2 separate regions of the Homo sapiens genome follow, and region 1 is linked to region 2. Evidence: promoter capture Hi-C in 16 types of primary human blood cells and fetal thymus (Javierre and others, 2016). All regions are on one chromosome and are shown on one strand. Each heading gives the region's core, a stretch centred on a gene start or on the middle of the fragment in contact. The rest is flanking DNA. Distances are from core to core; before and after follow the strand shown. Region 1 overlaps THADA (THADA armadillo repeat containing). Region 2 holds the start of OXER1 (oxoeicosanoid receptor 1).

Region 1 (2,700 bases), core at 29-2,528, 820 kb before region 2:
TGAAAGTCTTAGCTATATTTTGTCCAATTAGTATTTCTATTTCTCTTTTTGCCTGGGTTCTCAGGTATTAAAAGGAAAGGAAAGTAGTTAAAGTTACTTTTATTAAGACATAACTTACAGAAAACTTTTCAGAGGTTATTTACTTTTTAAAAGAGGACTGTGTTAGTCTAAAAAAAAGATTCTCTAACTAATGAAATGTAGAGAATACATGATTTTAATATGAGGTAACTTCGGCCGGGTGTGGTGGCTCATGCCTGTAATCCCAGCACTTTGGGAGGCCAAGGCGGGCAGATCACGAGGTCAGGAGATTGAGACCATTCTGGCCAACATGATGAAATCCTGTCTAAAATACTAAAAAACTAAAATACAAAAAAAAACATTAGCTGGGCGTGGTGGCGTGCACCTGTAGTTCCAGCTACTCGGGAGGCTGAGGCAGGGGAATCAGTTGAACCCGGGAGACAGAGGTTGCAGTGAGCCAAGATCATGCCACTGCACTCCAGCCTGGCAACAGAGCAAGCCTCCGTCTCAAAAAAAAAAAAAAAAAAAGAAGTAGCTTTTTTTCCGAAAAGTTGATGGCACCTAATCAGTACTATTCTTTTCCAGCATTTTAAAGCTTCATAATCAGTAAAGTGTTTAGCTGCAAGTAACTGAAAACCAAACCTCCTTTCCCACATAACAAGTTCAGAGGCAGGTCATCCAGAACTGGTATAGGCAGTGTACGACCCACACATTTTCTGCTTTTCTGCTGTGCCATCTTCAGCAGGTTGGTTTTCACCCACGTTTGTTGCCTCGTGGTTGCCATATGACTGCTGTAGCTCCAGATGTGTCTTTATTCAAGGCAGGAAGAAGGAAGGCCAGTTGCGTCTTTACTTTTGATCAGGATACTCAAGTGACTGGCTTAAATCCAACTGGCCTGAACCCTCTTATATGCCTACCTTTAGTTGCAAAGAAGATTGAAGAAGCAAGTATCCTGCTTTTGGCTGGGCATGTGGCTTCCCCAATCAAAGTCACAGTTTTCTTATCAGTGATGAAGGGCAGAGTGGATATTTAGTACGTAGTTTATGATGTCATAAAGAAGTGTTACTTCTTTCCCCAGGTTGAACAACTCACCATGGTATTAGAGGCTAATAGAGATAAAACAAAAAGAAGATACCAAGTCAAAACTGTTTGGTTGCTATGGGTACAGTGTCAGTGCTAGCAAAGTTTGTAATTAGCACTTACCTACATTCTTTATACAAGCCCTGAAATCTCTTTTTGAAAAAGTCTGTGTATATGGTGATTGGGATACAGAGGCATTGGTGGAGGGGAGGGGACAGGTGGTGTTGCTGTTAGGTGTTTTGGGAAGCAATAGTTGGCGAGGAAGAAAGTGTATGTTAGAGGAGAGAGGAAGGAATCACGTTTATTGAGTATCTATATGCTGGGCTTAAAAGCCTTTATATTCAGCCGGGCACAGTGGCTCATGCCTGTAATCCCAACACTTTGGGAGGCCGAGGCAGGCGGATCACAAGGTCAAGAGATCGAGACCATCATGGCCAACGTGGTGAAACCCCATCTCTACTAAAGATACAAAAATTAGCTGGGTGTGGTGGCACGCGCCTGTAGTCCCAGCTACTTGGGAGGCTGAGGCAGGAGAATCGCCTGAACCCAGGAAGTAGAGGTTGCAGTGAGCTGAGGTCACGCTACTACACTCCAGCCTGTCAACAGAGTGAGACTCCTTCTAAAAAGCGTTTATGTTCATTATTCATCTAAACCTGACACTGCCTCAGTTAAGAGTTATCCCATTTTACCCAAGAGAAAAGAGAGTCTGTGGGATGTTAAATAACTTAGGTAAGACCTATTCACCCAGGAAGTGGTCAGACTAGAAATTGTACCCAGGCCTATCTGGCTGCTCAGCATCTGCTCTTTCCACTCTACCAGAATATTCATTATTTAACACAAGCTTCTCTCCTTTTTTGCCAAATAGATGATCTGTTACAGACTGTACAGAGCACATCTGGATTAGCTATTATTCTTTTTATTAAGACTATGTTTCACCCGTCTGAAAAGATTCCTCATTTGGTAAGTGCATCTCCTTTTTAGAATTGTACTTTATTGAGAGTTAGGGTATGTTTAAAAAATAATTTTGGCTTGGTGCAGTGGCTCACACTTATAATCCCAACACTTTGGGAGGCCAGGGCAGGAGGGTCACTTGAGGCCAGGAGTTTGAGATTAGCCTGGGGAGTTTAGCTAGACCTTGTCTCTACAAAAAAAAAAAAAGAAAATTTGCTGGGTATGGTGGTGCACAGCTGTAGTCCCAGCTCTTTGAGAGGTTGAGGTAGGAGGATCGCTTGAGCCTAGGAGTTTAAGGCTGCAGTGAGATAAGATTGCACCAGTCTGGGCAACAGAGTGAGACCTTGTCTCTTAAAAAAAAAAAAAATTAAAAATATTTTTAAAGAAGTGAATTAAAATAATTTTTTTTTGCATTGTCTGGTTCCTTCTGATGACCTTTTTCTGTTATAATAAGAGACAATTCCAAAAATTCAGATAAAGCAACAATAACAAAAAGACAATAACAGTCACCTGTAAGTCCATCTCACAAAGATAATCACTATAAACATTTTTGATGTACATTCTTTTAGTTTCTTTTTAGTGCTGTTTGTTCAGTGTCATCTCTCATTAGTATCTTAAAAGATATTTTTAATGTTAAAATTATGCATATCA
Region 2 (2,700 bases), core at 190-2,689:
TCCCGAGTAGCTGGGACTACAGGCACCTGCCACCACGCCCGGCTACTTTTTTTGTATTTTTAGTAGAGACGGGGTTTCACCGTGTTAGCCAGGATGGTCTCGATCTCCTGACCTCGTGATCTGCCCGCCTCGGCCTCCCAAAGTGCTGGGATTACAGGCTTAAGCCACTGTGCCTGGCCTATAAGTTTTTACATAAATTATCTCATTTTATCCTCACAACTCTCCAAGAAGGTGGTAGTGCCTGATTTTACAGATCAGGCTCAGAGAGGTTTGGAAATAGGGCAGCTCTGTTTCCAACCCAGGCCTGTCTGCATATGGAGCTTAGGCTGGGCCTCACCACCCTGCTTCTCCCAGGGATGTTTGCCCTCAGCCTTGACCAAATGGGAGCCCAGGGCAGCCAAGAGAGGCCAGGGGCCACTGTGCCTGGGACACAGAGGCCAGGCCACACATGGCAGACTGCTGACCCCAGCCAGTTGGCAGTGATGGGGTCAGGCCCTGGAGCCTGGAACCAGCACCTCCCTTGGCCCTGCTGTCCCGGGTTATCAGGAGCCTGAAGCCCTCATCTCCACCCACAGGACCAGCCCATGGGCTCATGAGAATACCTCACCATGGGACAGCTGGACTTGTACCTTGTCTGGAGCTAGCCCCAGCCTCCCACTCCCTATTCCGCAGTGAATGCTAATGGGGGCAAGGAGTGGAGTGGACAAGGAGCCATGGGGAGACACAGACAGGGAAAAATCAGGATTGTTCTATTTGCGGGAGAAGCCCCCAGCTCCCCGTGCCATGGCAGTAGAAATTTGGCAGGGGCGTCCCCGTCCATGGGGCCTACTTCACCGTGTACCCGGACTTGGGACCATCACAGACTTCGGAACCATCAGGAACCTGGGAGCAACTGAAAGCTGAACTACAGTGGGCTTTCAGACACACAGCAGGCTGGCGGAGCACAAATAGGACTGGTTCCCTCCAGGCCACCAGCAGGGCGGTGGAGGTCTTCACTGACTCCCTGCCTACCTCTCAGGACAATGTCCTTTTGGCTCCACAGTCCCTGAAGCCAGAGCTGGTGGGGGCAGGGAGGCAGCCACCAGCCTCTATATGTAGTGGAGGAGGGGGTGTCCAGGGAGGGCTGCATGATCCTGAGAGCCCCCACCTCACCCGGCTGGACTATCCTCCCACTTCAGGGTTTCTCTGGGCTTCCATCTTGCCCCTGCTGAGCCCTGCTTCCTCCTCTACCAGCAGCACAACCCCCAGGCTGGGCTCAGAGACCTCATGTGGTGGGATCACTCAGTACCCCGAGGCGGAGGGAAGGAGGGAGGGCTGCAGGGTTCCCCTTGGCCTGCAAACAGGAACACAGGGTGTTTCTCAGTGGCTGCGAGAATGCTGATGAAAACCCCAGGATGTTGTGTCACCGTGGTGGCCAGCTGATAGTGCCAATCATCCCACTTTGCCCTGAGCACTCCTGCAGGGGTAGAAGACTCCAGAACCTTCTCTCAGGCCCATGGCCCAAGCAGCCCATGGAACTTCATAACCTGAGCTCTCCATCTCCCTCTCTCTCCTCCTCTGTTCTCCCTCCCTCCTTCTCTCCCTCACCCTCCTCTGCTCCCTCTGCCTTTACCACTGTGGGGGGGTCCTCTGGAGGGCCCTGCCACCCCACCTCTTCCTCGCTGGTGTCTGCCTTCCTGGCACCAATCCTGGCCCTGGAGTTTGTCCTGGGCCTGGTGGGGAACAGTTTGGCCCTCTTCATCTTCTGCATCCACACGCGGCCCTGGACCTCCAACACGGTGTTCCTGGTCAGCCTGGTGGCCGCTGACTTCCTCCTGATCAGCAACCTGCCCCTCCGCGTGGACTACTACCTCCTCCATGAGACCTGGCGCTTTGGGGCTGCTGCCTGCAAAGTCAACCTCTTCATGCTGTCCACCAACCGCACGGCCAGCGTTGTCTTCCTCACAGCCATCGCACTCAACCGCTACCTGAAGGTGGTGCAGCCCCACCACGTGCTGAGCCGTGCTTCCGTGGGGGCAGCTGCCCGGGTGGCCGGGGGACTCTGGGTGGGCATCCTGCTCCTCAACGGGCACCTGCTCCTGAGCACCTTCTCCGGCCCCTCCTGCCTCAGCTACAGGGTGGGCACGAAGCCCTCGGCCTCGCTCCGCTGGCACCAGGCACTGTACCTGCTGGAGTTCTTCCTGCCACTGGCGCTCATCCTCTTTGCTATTGTGAGCATTGGGCTCACCATCCGGAACCGTGGTCTGGGCGGGCAGGCAGGCCCGCAGAGGGCCATGCGTGTGCTGGCCATGGTGGTGGCCGTCTACACCATCTGCTTCTTGCCCAGCATCATCTTTGGCATGGCTTCCATGGTGGCTTTCTGGCTGTCCGCCTGCCGATCCCTGGACCTCTGCACACAGCTCTTCCATGGCTCCCTGGCCTTCACCTACCTCAACAGTGTCCTGGACCCCGTGCTCTACTGCTTCTCTAGCCCCAACTTCCTCCACCAGAGCCGGGCCTTGCTGGGCCTCACGCGGGGCCGGCAGGGCCCAGTGAGCGACGAGAGCTCCTACCAACCCTCCAGGCAGTGGCGCTACCGGGAGGCCTCTAGGAAGGCGGAGGCCATAGGGAAGCTGAAAGTGCAGGGCGAGGTCTCTCTGGAAAAGGAAGGCTCCTCCCAGGGCTGAGGGCCAGCTGCAGGGCTGCAGCGCTGTGGGGGTA

Evidence for each region. Contacts are between HindIII fragments. The CHiCAGO score rates a contact against its expected background, and 5 or more counts as called.
Region 1: a contact is called between a fragment that was not itself captured here and the fragment with the promoter of OXER1 in region 2, in 1 of 17 cell types (naive B cells). The highest score is 5.6, in naive B cells.

Annotation. Positions count from the first base shown.
Region 1 is chr2:43,577,871-43,580,570 of GRCh38, reverse strand. It overlaps THADA (THADA armadillo repeat containing), which reads left to right. Exons shown (of 38, transcript NM_022065.5): 9 at 1,964-2,058. Among named protein-coding and RNA genes, the nearest start is that of THADA, 17 kb to the left of the region's middle. The HindIII fragment of the contact is 1,326 bases long and covers 616-1,941 here.
Region 2 is chr2:42,762,874-42,765,573 of GRCh38, reverse strand. It overlaps OXER1 (oxoeicosanoid receptor 1), which reads left to right and starts at 1,439. Exons shown (of 1, transcript NM_148962.5): 1 at 1,439-2,700. The coding sequence starts at 1,512. The coding sequence ends at 2,666. The HindIII fragment of the contact is 6,399 bases long and covers 1-2,700 here.